4 separate regions of the Homo sapiens genome follow, and all the other regions are linked to region 1. Evidence: promoter capture Hi-C in 16 types of primary human blood cells and fetal thymus (Javierre and others, 2016). All regions are on one chromosome and are shown on one strand. Each heading gives the region's core, a stretch centred on a gene start or on the middle of the fragment in contact. The rest is flanking DNA. Distances are from core to core; before and after follow the strand shown.

Region 1 (3,092 bases), core at 259-2,758:
GTAATCCCCTGAGCACCATTCTTGGCACTTGGAGGACAGTATTCTTAAACGGGGTTATACAAATGAACAGTTAAATGAATACACTGATGGACCCTGACTCTCATCCACCCACACCTAACAGGATCCCACTGTGAGCCCCTAACTGACCCAGCCTGGGGAGCAGATCCTTCTTAGCTCCACCCCTGGACCCCCAGCTCTCTAGCCCCCAAACTTACTTGACTCTAAAGTCATCAGCAGCAAGACGGGCATTGTCAATCTGCAGAACGATGCGGGCATTGTCCACAGTATTTGCGAAGATCTGGAGGGATTGTAGAGAGAGGTTGTTCCATGAATAGAAAGCCAGGGATGGGTGGGGTGAGTGTGTAAAAAGTGTTATGTATCCTAGTGAAAACTTCCTGGTCCCAGGAATAGCCAGAGGCTCTCCCTGGACACCTATCCCTTTTCATCTAGCCCCACCCCATTCCCTCCTTTCCTGGATTCCCAGATCCCAGCACTCTGCCCCTCTTGGGAAGCCTCAGCAGGCTGGCTAGCTGGCTGGCCTGCCTGCCCAGAAGTGAGTCGCTACTAACAAGTCCTCTTCCTGGCCCTCTCCTGGCATTTTTTCCCTAGTGCACCTGGTCACTCTGGGCCCCCTACACCCTGGATTGGCTCCTCCCAAAGGAAGGCCTCTTGTTTACTCCTAGATGACTCAGCCTTAGCCACATCCGCTTAACCCTCCAATAGTCCCCATTCCGCCAGAGCCAGTGTCTCCTCCTCTTTACAGGCCTTTCCTTACCTCCCTCCATGCTGTCCACTTCCTCTGTAAAGCTCTCAACCCTGTCCCCTTCCCCCTCTCTCCTGGGAAAGAGCCCTCCCATGCCTAGCTGCTGCTCTTAGGGACCCTGTGGCTAGGTGCGCGGATGGAAATCCAGGTATGCCCAACCCCCTCCCGGTGGAGTAGGGGTTGGGTGGTTATGGAATGACGGAAAGAGGCAAAGGAGTGTATAATTGGAGGGTCAGACAAGGCTGGGAGTTGAGGTCCCTCCTACCCCTTACCTGAGCCCTCAGGTCCTCGATGATCTTGAAGTAATGGCTCCAGTCTCTGACCTGGGGTCCCTTCTTCTCCAAGTGCTCCCGGATTTTGCTCTCCAGCCTCCGGTTCTCGGTCTCCAGGCTCCTCACTCTGTCCAGGTAAGAGGCCAGGCGGTCGTTCAGGCTTTGCATGGTCTCCTTCTCGTTCTGGATGCCTCCCATTCCTGCCAGACCCCCGGCTATCCCGGTGGCCAGGCCCCCGGACCCCATGCCGCCCCTGAAGCTGGTGGAGCGGGACACGGAGATCCGGGAACCAGAGCCCCCAGCGCCTGCATAGACGCTGGCCGCGCTGCTGACCGGCCGGGCGCCGTAGCTGGGCGCCTGGACAGAGCCCAGGGACCGGTAGTTGGTGGAGAAGGTGGAGCGAGTGGTGAAGCTCATGCTGTCCGGGGAGAGAGAAAGGACAGGACTCAGGCTTTGCGGACGACGGTGGCGGCCTGCGCGAGCCGCGCGACCCGAGTTATATCGCAGAGTGAGGCCCCGCCCCCGCCCCGGAGCCGCTTCGGAAGCCGGAGCCACAGGTGGACGGCTCGGAGCCCGCGCCCTCCGCCCCGGGCCGCTCCGCCCCGGGCCCCACCCCCGCGCCCTCCGCGCAGCCCTGCCAAGCCCCGCTCACCCCCCAGAAACGGGGTGGCCAACCGGGCATGGACACGGACAGCAGGTGTTGTTGGCCCTCGAGGCTGCTTTCAGGGCAGGAAATGACGTTATTATGCTCTTCTCCCCCAGGTGGAGGAGGTGCTGGCGAGTTTGAAATTTGGGAGTCTTGACCGGGCGCAGTGGCTCACGCCTGTAATCTCAGCACTTTGGGAGGCCTAGGTGGGCGGATCACGAGGTCAGGAGATCGAGACCATCCTAGCCAACATGGTGAAACCCCCTCTCTACTAAAATACAAAAAATTAGCCGGACGTGATGGTGCACGCCTGTAGTCTCAGCTACTTGGGAGGCTGAGGAAGGGGAATCGCTTGAACCTGGGAGGCGGAGGTTGCAGTGAGCCGAGATCGCGCCACTGCAGCCTGGCGACAGAGTGAGACTCTGTCTCAAAAAAAAAAAAAAAAAAAAAGAAAAAAGAAATTTGGGGGTCTGGTGGTGTGCGGGTGGAATGGCCTGTGAGTCCCTCTAGCTGTCCTTAACCTGCAGCCCAAATTATCCACTTGTGGAGGGGATCTTGGGGGCATCCTGGAGCCCCAGGAGTCCCGGGGAAGAAAGGCTGGGAGCTGGAGAAGAGGAGGAGAAGCAATGCCCAGCCTCATAGCTGCTTGCTTACACACTCACACCCCAGCTGCACCTGGCTCCCAAACACTCCTCGCCTGCCCACGTTTCCTCACACACACTCACACCCGAATCATACAGAGGTGTGCTCTCAAATGCACACACACATACATTCACTCAGCAAATAGGTGCAGACTCCCCAAAACAAACCCAGTCTCTGAGCCCCCTCCACCACCCTCCCCTCTCCCGACCTCACTCCCAAGGGCCTTGCCTCAGTGGAACACTGTGATTTGGACAGGGAATGCATCCTGACTTCTGCACACCGGTATATCACCTTTCCTGCATCCTTAATTAAACAAATCCTGAGCATTTACAATTCAACCAGTATGCATTCAGCACCTACTGTGAGCCAGGCCCAGTTCTAGGAGCTGGGAGAGAAGGGCGGTGACAAAAGAGACCAAAAATCTCTCACAGAGATGATAATGTGTCCCACATCGCCGGGCACAGTGGCTCATGCCTGTAATCCAAGCACTTTGGGAGGCCGAGGCGGGTGGATCACTTGAGGTCAAGAGTTCGATGCCACTGCACTCCAGCCTAGACAACAGAGCAAGACTCTGTCTCAAAAAAAAAAAAAAAAAAAAAAAATTTGAGACCAGCCTGACCAACATGGTGACACCCCTTCTCTACTAAAAATACAAAAATTAACCAGGCACAGTGTGTGCCTGTAATCCCAGCTACTCAGGAGGCTGAGGCAGGAGAATCGCTTGAACCCAGGAGGCAGAGGTTGCAGTGAGCCAAGATCGTGCCGTCGC
Region 2 (3,092 bases), core at 407-2,906, 500 kb after region 1:
TGTCGGACACTCCGGTGGACAATCACCAACTACTCAGCCCTCACCACTTGGGAATTTTTCCACAAATGGAGTCTTTTATAAAGCATCAGAACAAAAAGGGAAGCTAATTCCTGGAATCTGGATCAGCATAATCTGATAACTAAGATTCATTTATATTTTTTATTTTTCAGCCCCATCATTTGGTGGCTTGACCCCACACTGATCTCTGAGACTCCCTCTCTCCCCGGCTCCCCACCACCAGGGAAATATTGCACTGACCCTGCAGATCAGAAACACTTGGTAAGAAGCAGGTGCTTGCCCTGACTCTATGATTATTAAGACTTTTGCCACCAATGCTTGCTCTGATATAAACTTCTAAAATCCATCATTCAAACTAATAGATACAGTAAAGGAGCATCCTCAAATCTCAGTGTATGGATTTAAAGCCATGCAGTGCCATATGTTTTGGAATGGTTTTGACACAACTCAAAGATACATGGGCTGAACTTAAGAACTTATCCTGGGGCCGGACTTGGTGGCTCACACCTGTTAATCCCAGCACTTTGGGAGGTCGAGGCAGGTGGATCACTTAAGGCCAGGTGTTTGAGACCAGCCTGGTCAACAAGAAGAAACCCCGTCTTTACTAAAAATACAAAAATTAGCTGGGCATGGTGTTATGCACCTGTAATTCCAGCTACTCAGGAGGCTGAGGCACAAGAATCACTTGAGTCTGGGAGGTGGAGGTTGCAGTGAGCCAAGATAATGCCACTGCACTCCAGCCTGGGCAACAGAGCAAGAACTCCATCTAAAAAAAAAAAGAAAAAAAGAACTTATCTTGGGAAAGGCTGGTTAGAATGTTTATGACTGTACACCTAAAAACAGTGACTTTGACTGTCTGTACATTATACCTCAACAACCCTTAGAAAAAGTGAAGTTGTAAAAAAAGATAAAATAAATTCATAAAATTTCTTTATAAAATTAGAGAGTTTGTTTTGAGGTGCTGCTGGCAAAGATGACATGGTCCATGAGACAACATGGTCCACGCTGACAGACGACACTCAGATCAACATGGGGACTGAGCACAGCGGCTCATGACTGTAATCCCAACACTTTGGGAGGCCAAGGCAGGAATCACTTGAGCTTAGGAGTGTGACACCAGCCTGGGCAACATAGCCAGACCCTGTCTGTACAAAAAAACTAAAAAATTAGTTGGGCATGGTGGTGCACACCTGTAGTTTTAGCTACTTAGGAAGCCGAAGCAGGAGGATCACTTGAGCCAAGGTGTCTGAAGTGGCAGTGAGTTATGATTGCAACACTGCACTCCAGCCTGGATGATGAAGGTTAAGGGAGTTCCTCATTTGATGATAGGATGCAAAAACAAAACAAAACAAAACAAAAAACCATGCACATTTTAACTGTAAACTTTCATGATAATTTTGACAAGCAAAAATTGATGGTTGGACGTTCATTCAAATTGACCAGATATCAACATCAGGGTTGTAATTTTCACTTTTAGACGGAAACAGACTCTCTATCTTTTAGGCCATGTTTACACAAGCTTATTCTAGAAACTGGCTAATCAGGTCTTATCCGTGAGCAGAAGAATACAAAGTGAAAGAAAATTCCTGAAGAACAACAATAACTCTTTCAGTTATGGTCATATTTTGCCCATTTGATGCCACAGCAGAGACTCTTTCCCATGCGTCACTACTGTAGTTGAGGTCTGGCCTTCTTCCCATGGTTGTCTGTGGGTGAGCAAACGTCTTGCCACTGAGTAGGTCATTAGCAGAAGCTTTGGAGCGGGAGGAGACTTTGGGGAATTAGTGACCCCCTCCCTTTCTATCATTGCAGTCTAGAGTTTGAAGTCAAAGGCATGGTGGAAGCAGAGCGTAGGAACTGCCACGTTGTTCAAGTCCCAAAAGCTGTTAGGACAACTTCCCAGTGTGCCAGGCAAAGTCATTCTCCCCCCTCAGGTAAAAAGCTCGAGGACAGCAGGCTACTGGCAGGGTCCCTCACTACCCTCAAGTGAAATCCAGATGCTTACCCTCTCTGAGAGGCCAGCTAGATGCCAGCTGGCTTGAGACTTGGAGCAGGCATCCCAGTCTCCTGTGAATAGGGTTGTCCAGACAAAATAGAGGAAGCCCAGTTAAATTTGTTGTGTTTTTTTTTTAGACATAGTCTCATTCTGTCACCCAAGCTAGAGTAGAGTAGTGCAATCATGGCTCCCTGCTGACTGGACTTCGCAGGCTGAAGTGATCCTCTTGCCTCAGCCTCTTGAGTACCTGTGACCACAGGCATGCACCACCATGCCTAGATAATTTCTTCTTTTTTGTAATTTTTGTAGAGTTAGGGTCTCACTATTTGTCCAGGCTGGTTTCAAACTCCTGGGCTCAAGTGATCCTTCCACCTCAACCTCCCAAAGTGCTGGAATTATAGGCATGAACCACTGCACTGAAACCTCAGTTAAAGTTGAACTACAGATAAACAACAAAAATTCATACGTCCTAGTATCCGTGCCTTTCATGTGTTTCTACAGTTTCTCAGGATTCATCCTGTGGGAGGAAGATAACAGCCCCAGCTGGTTCGCCATCTTGCCAGGACAAAATACTAATAGTGATTAATTCTGAGGAGTATGAATTTGGGTAATTGCTATTTTCATTTTCATACTTTTCTGCTACATAAAGATCAACATCCTACTTTTTCCACCATTGAAATGCCATTTTTATTACATGCTGAATTCATACACTTTATCTTCTGTGTCATTGATCTCTTTGTCTGATCACACCACTGTGATTACTAGATCTTTATATTACATGCTGCTTTCTCTATTACTTTAGGGTCAGTCTCTGGTGCCTTATTTTGTCCATTTGGTGAGGTCTTTTCCATGAACATCCTCGATGCTCAAGGATGTGCAATGATGTCTGAACCTGCAGAGAGATTTTGGACTGTGGTTGGGTGCAGAATATCTTGTGGGGGGATATGAACAGGTTACCTTGTATTCTGCCATCTTGGTGACATTCACTCTGTTATTTACATGTTGGTTTCTTATACAGCAAGTCCTACTCATTGTTTGTCTTCAATGTTTTCTGGTTATTCTTGTGCATTTTGTTGTG
Region 3 (3,092 bases), core at 211-2,710, 460 kb after region 1:
GAGGGAGGGGAGCTGCTTCCGTTGTCTTGAGAAGGTATCTCGTTCTTGCCAGACGCTGAGTTAGCACCTCCTTTAGACAGGGAACACCCTGTTCTCCTGGATGCTGTGTCCCCCCCTCCAAATGTTGGAGAAATGGGACTGCTTTTAAAATAGTAACAAGAGCTTTCCTGAGGCTCTTCTTAGCATGGGAGTTTGTTCTTCCTCCTGCGGTTGCTCATTTATCCATAGGTTCTCACAGAACAATATTGCCCAGGATTGCTCTCCATTCTCCTCATGCACAGTGCTTAATGCATGGACTGGAGAAGTGAAGCTCATTCCTCTGTAAACCAAGCACACTCACCTTTGTCAGCCTGCCCACCCTCCCAGAAGGTGTATATGGATTTGAGATTTCAAGCACTGAGATCAGAAATTAAAATGTGGAATTGACATGTTACATCATCACACTTGTAAGGGCACAATTTTATGATTCACAGCTTCCATATGCCCCTTGACTTTCCCTACACACCCAATTAAACTGTCTGACTCTTGATTCTTAAGAAATGTCAAAATCTGTGGGAATAAAAATCCAGTGAATTCCTTAATGATTTTTATATCACTCATTTTCCGTTGTTTAAATTAAGCTCTATGTAAATGCTCCAAAACAGCAGGGAGAAGGTGTCTATAAATTTCAACTGGAAAGGCAGATTTACATGAGACTAAGCTCAATAGGAAAGCAAGCACTGGAGAGAGAGGTGCAGATATGGAAAGAAACTCCTGGCAGAAGTCAGGTCTCTGAGCACCCTGGGCAATGTCTGCTCCCTTCATTTTAGGTAAACGGCATGTGGGCAGGTGATCACACAGTACACAGAACAAATGTTGCTCCTACAGTGTAAAGACTCAACTCCTCTGTCCCTCTTGCCTGACAAAGGAGGGTTAGATCCCCAAAGCAGACCCCGTTCCTATGTCCAGGACACAAGGGAGGACAGCCAGGAGCTCCAGAAGAACTGGTCCAAATGCAGTGGAAAAAACACAACAGGCTACTTCTTGCTCAGGCCATCGGGCAAATGCCCATACGCCCTCAGGAAGGATCCCACTCAGAGGGTGAGGCTGGTGCAAGTGGAGTAGAAAACCTGTGTGGGAAGGGGGCACACAGGGAGTGTCTGATGAAGAAGAAGGAGGGGACAATTATCACAGATCAGCTCCTTGTCTCCTTTGTTTGAGGACATGACTAACTCATGACTTCAGTGAATGTATACCCGGGCTTATTGTGTTAGGATCAAGTCAAGGCTGGAAGGCAGGAGAATTTCTCTATGACTAAAGGAAGCCAAAAAGCAATCTTCATATTTCATACCTTTCTAGAAACTGGGTGTGATCTCACTGTTGGTAAAGCCCAGCCCTTCCCAACCTGCAAGCTCACCTTCCAGGACTGGGCCCAGCCCATGCTCTCCATATATAAGCTGCTGCCCCGAGCCTGATTCCTAGTCCTGCTTCTCTTCCCTCTCTCCTCCAGCCTCTCACACTCTCCTCAGCTCTCTCATCTCCTGGAACCATGGCCAGCACATCCACCACCATCAGGAGCCACAGCAGCAGCCGCCGGGGTTTCAGTGCCAACTCAGCCAGGCTCCCTGGGGTCAGCCGCTCTGGCTTCAGCAGCGTCTCCGTGTCCCGCTCCAGGGGCAGTGGTGGCCTGGGTGGTGCATGTGGAGGAGCTGGCTTTGGCAGCCGCAGTCTGTATGGCCTGGGGGGCTCCAAGAGGATCTCCATTGGAGGGGGCAGCTGTGCCATCAGTGGCGGCTATGGCAGCAGAGCCGGAGGCAGCTATGGCTTTGGTGGCGCCGGGAGTGGATTTGGTTTCGGTGGTGGAGCCGGCATTGGCTTTGGTCTGGGTGGTGGAGCCGGCCTTGCTGGTGGCTTTGGGGGCCCTGGCTTCCCTGTGTGCCCCCCTGGAGGCATCCAAGAGGTCACCGTCAACCAGAGTCTCCTGACTCCCCTCAACCTGCAAATCGATCCCACCATCCAGCGGGTGCGGGCTGAGGAGCGTGAACAGATCAAGACCCTCAACAACAAGTTTGCCTCCTTCATCGACAAGGTGAGCCAGTGCCATGCCCTCCATGGGGCACTTCAGGGTCCCCAGACCAGAGGAGCAACACCTTCCTGCCAGGGAGACCTAGGAGGGAGGGAGAAGAGGACTCAGCCCAGCTCTGCAGAGAGTGCAGATGGCTGCTGGTGCCCAGCAAGCAGCAGGGATGGGCATCACTCCCCCATGGGATCTCTGGAGTGGCCCTCACTCCTGCCTAGGGAGAACCATAACTTTTCATAACCCTGAAGCACAGATGAGGCCATCAGAGAATGGAGTAGGTTAACTCTTCCCTTTGAAGCGTCAAAGAAAATGCCAGGAGTACACGGGCTGGTAAATTACACTCTGGGGTCTGGATAAGAGGAAAAAATATTGGAAACAAAAGAAAGGATATTTTGGCTAGATTAAGAAAAAAAAGACTTAAAACGTTTATACGTTATGTGGAAATGTTAATTAATCCTCAAAACAAAGAATGACCATAACATCAGGATGTTTTAGAGGAGAGACTTGCACAAATGGGAAATAAGACGGGAATCAAATCATTGGGCAACATTTAACATCTCTTCTAACTGAGGTCCTATCAGTAATAAAAACTGTGTAAAATTTATCAGATGAATACTATTTTATAACTATGTTTGTAATTTTGGCTGGGAAAAGAAGGAAAAGACATGTTGAAACTCATTAATATGTCCAATAACTTAGAGAGTGAGAACACCTGAATGGTCCGTGGGACAATTCCTCTAGTGAGATTGGTGGGGTACAAAGGAGAAGGGGTTGGGGGAGCAGAGCTCAGCCTGAGCCTCTCTACATGCACTGTAGTAGCCCAGCACCATGGGAACCTCCCGGACCTGCCAGGAAACCGGATACCAGACACTTTTTCTTCCTTCCCTTGCCTGGAAAATGATCATCTTGTCTCTCTTTCAGGTGCGGTTCCTGGAGCAGCAGAACAAGGTTCTGGAAACAAAGTGGACCCTGCTGCAGGAGCAGGGCACCAAGACTGTGAGGCAGAACCTGGAGCCGTTGTTCGAGCAGTACA
Region 4 (3,092 bases), core at 392-2,891, 330 kb after region 1:
GGAGGTTGCGATGAGCCGAGATCATGCTATTGCACTCCAGCCTGGGCAAGAAGAGTGAAACGCCATCTCAAAAAAAAAAAAAAAAAAAAAGAAAAAAAGGAATAGAACTTCATGTTAGCTAAAAAAGATTAAAGGACTTCCAAGTGGCATTGCCTTTAGTGAAATTGAAGACATCAAAGAAAATGATTATTCTTAACTAGAAAACAACCATATTGTATAAAACAGAGGGGAGGTTGAATTTGGCAATTGCTTAGTACAACAATTTTAGAGGCATATCATAACCTCTATACAGAAATAGAAAAGAAGGATGGGCCAACTGTTCATTCAAGTACTCCAGCTAGTGAAATACTTGTGTTTTTATGGAGGAAATTCTATACTATGGATATATTTGGGATTTGGGATTTGGGAAACTCTTGGGTCACATACTTTGGCAATGTCAAGGATCCATGAAATTCAAATGTCTTCCCCTACCTCCCCATCTCCAAAATTGTGAGCTAGGTTTGGTCTTCATAATTCGGGACCCAAGAGCCTAGCACAGTACCTGGGAGAGAGTCAGCCCTCAAGAGAAGTCTGTTAAACGAATGGATAAATGAATGAACAAGTAGATGGCTGGCTGGCTGGTTGGACGGATAGATGGACGAATGAATAAGGCGGGCATAGCTCTGAATGTGGAGTCAGAAGACCAGCCAAGGGAGTCCTCAAGGCTGGGGCCTGTGCTTTTTGGGGGCATTTTCATTCTCTGGGATTCACACAAAGAAAGGACTCACTAAATGTTTGCTAAAGGAATGACATCCTCAATTATCTGAACCTTGGTTTCCCCATTTGTGTAATGTGGATCATCACCATTCCCCTCCATGCAGACTAAGTGGATTAAATGAGCTTCTTGTGTGAGGAGCTCTGTTACACTGTAAAGTGCTGCACCAGTGTCAGCCATCGTGAATGGTGCAATGACCATAATTTCAAGGTCAAGAGTCAGGGTAGTGGGATGGTAAAGGGAAAAAGAAGTCAGTGTGTGCAAAGGAAGGTGAGCAGGGCAGCCCGGCTGGCACAGAGGAGCAGGAGAGCTGCCTGGGAGGGCACAGCAGGGGGCTGGCAGCCAGAGGCTGGTCCTGGATTCCCAGTGTGCTCCTCTCCTATGGCCCTGGCCAGCCATCAAACCTGTCTCCAGGAACTCTGGGAAGCCAGGCAGCAGCAGCCTCTTCTTAACCACATAAAAGCAGCTCAGCCAGGGTCCCTGAAGCAGCCCATCTGATGCTGGCATGGTTGTGAGATTTCTAACAGATGACACTGTCAATTAAAGGTCTCCCCTCTGTACCCCTACAATCCCAGGCCCCACCACTCCCTGGGGAACAGCAATTGAGACTGCGACAAACCTCCCACCTAAGATCTTTCTATGGATAATGTGCCCATGCTAATTACACATGTTCATTAGATAAAACTCAAATTACATGAGCAAGACTTGCAAGACTAGCACTTTGGGAGTTTTCAAGTCATTTACCTGGTGTCTGATTTTGCTGGGAGAAAATGATTTCTTGCTTCCAGGCAAACTGAACCCACAAATTAGGCCCATGGCTCCCTCTTGAGTCCTATAAAGTGGGAGCCCAGGATCACAGGCTGGTGAACTGCATCTCAGCTAAGGGTCAGCATCTTATCCCCACTTTCTGGCCTCCCCACCATGAGCCGCCAATTCACCTACAAGTCGGGAGCTGCTGCCAAGGGGGGCTTCAGCGGCTGCTCCGCTGTGCTCTCAGGGGGCAGCTCATCCTCCTACCGAGCAGGGGGCAAAGGGCTCAGTGGAGGCTTCAGCAGTCGGAGCCTTTACAGCCTGGGGGGTGCCCGGAGCATCTCTTTCAATGTGGCCAGTGGCAGTGGGTGGGCAGGAGGCTATGGATTTGGCCGGGGCCGGGCCAGTGGCTTTGCTGGCAGCATGTTTGGCAGTGTGGCCTTGGGGTCCGTGTGTCCGTCGTTGTGCCCGCCCGGGGGTATCCATCAGGTCACCATCAACAAGAGCCTCCTGGCACCCCTGAACGTGGAGCTGGACCCTGAAATCCAGAAAGTGCGTGCCCAGGAGCGGGAGCAGATCAAGGTGCTGAACAACAAGTTCGCCTCCTTCATTGACAAGGTGGGTCTTTCTGGAGAAAGCTGATCTTGGGCTCCCCTTTTAAGGACTCAGGAGGGAGCCACTGCCCTAATTTGTGGTTCAATTTGCCTGAGAGCAAGAAATCATTTTCTCCCAGCAAAATCAGACACCAGGTAAACAACTTGAAAGCTCCCCAGGTGCTGGGCCCATAAGGCTTGCTCATGCCGTAGAGCCCCTTCCTTCCCCCGCCTTCATTGTCCTTGGGGTGCTCCCTGTCTGAAGCAGACGAAGGCAGGACACCTCCCCAGGATGCAGACATAGCCCAGGGAGGAACTGGACAAAGCCTGGACATCAGAGGCAAGGGACCAGGGTTGGAGGGGTGAGAGGAGCCAGCAGCCTAGCCCAGGAAGGTGTCCAGGAAGCAATGAGAGCGGTCTCTGAGTTGAGAAGTAGCAGAGTGACAGCCTGTGAGACTTAGAAGCTAGGCGAAGGAGATGCCCTTGACAGCCTGGGGCATCTAGACTGCCATGCGACCCAGCTGTTCCTCCTGTGTCCCCTGAAAGCTCAGACTCAGTCCGTAACACACACAGCCTATGAGGCAAGGCAGCTGGAGGTCACGGTGCCCTAGAGCAGTGGTTCTCAAAGGTGGCCCTGGAACCAGCAGCAGCAACGTCACCTGGACGCTTGTTAGAATGCACACTCTCAGGCTCCACCCCAGAGCAACTGAATCAGAGACTCTGCAGCAGGGCCCAGCACCCTGCATTTTAACAAGCTCTCCAGGTGATGCTGATGTACACTCAGGTTTGAGAATCACTGAGGAACAAAGTGGTAGGAAGGTATTGGGAAGCAGAGACTTCCTAAGCTTAGAGGAGCAGGGGAAGCTCACCCGGAGCGACAGTGAGGTAGGGTGGTGAGGCATGAGTAGGAGTTTTCAGATGGAGGTGGGGAAAAGGCAATCTAGGGAGACAGCACGTGCAGCATGGTAGAACTTGTCTGGGGAATGGGAGACCTT

The links. The method cuts DNA at HindIII sites, captures the fragments that hold promoters and counts their contacts. A CHiCAGO score of 5 or more calls a contact.
Region 2: a fragment that was not itself captured here is called in contact with the fragment with the promoter of KRT18 in region 1 in 2 of 17 cell types (M2 macrophages and M0 macrophages); the score reaches 5.7 in M2 macrophages.
Region 3: a contact is called between the fragment with the promoter of KRT6A here and the fragment with the promoter of KRT18 in region 1, in 3 of 17 cell types (erythroblasts, M1 macrophages and M0 macrophages). The highest score is 6.9, in erythroblasts.
Region 4: the fragment with the promoter of KRT73 here is called in contact with the fragment with the promoter of KRT18 in region 1 in 7 of 17 cell types (M1 macrophages, naive CD4 T cells, M0 macrophages and 4 more); the score reaches 8.9 in M1 macrophages.

What each region holds. Positions count from the first base shown.
Region 1 is chr12:52,947,534-52,950,625 of GRCh38, reverse strand. KRT18 (keratin 18) reads right to left here and starts at 1,508. Exons shown (of 7, transcript NM_000224.3): 1 at 1,036-1,508; 2 at 216-298. The coding sequence starts at 1,452. It also overlaps a transcript of KRT8 not described here. RefSeq lists silencers at 465-479, 583-601, 825-848, 1,510-1,559, 1,600-1,679 and 2 more, enhancers at 636-735, 337-991, 1-1,102, 926-1,519, 1,520-2,113 and 1 more, promoters at 1,479-1,540, 1,750-1,832, 1,910-1,920, 1,841-1,920 and a cis regulatory region at 1,750-1,832. The HindIII fragment of the contact is 10,122 bases long and covers 1-3,092 here.
Region 2 is chr12:52,443,385-52,446,476 of GRCh38, reverse strand. No RefSeq gene overlaps it. Among named protein-coding and RNA genes, the nearest start is that of KRT6B, 7.2 kb to the left of the region's middle. The HindIII fragment of the contact is 234 bases long and covers 1,540-1,773 here.
Region 3 is chr12:52,491,625-52,494,716 of GRCh38, reverse strand. KRT6A (keratin 6A) reads left to right here and starts at 1,460. Exons shown (of 9, transcript NM_005554.4): 1 at 1,460-2,068; 2 at 2,981-3,092. The coding sequence starts at 1,529. The HindIII fragment of the contact is 6,361 bases long and covers 1-3,092 here.
Region 4 is chr12:52,617,108-52,620,199 of GRCh38, reverse strand. KRT73 (keratin 73) reads left to right here and starts at 1,641. Exons shown (of 9, transcript NM_175068.3): 1 at 1,641-2,122. The coding sequence starts at 1,676. The HindIII fragment of the contact is 4,368 bases long and covers 1-2,944 here.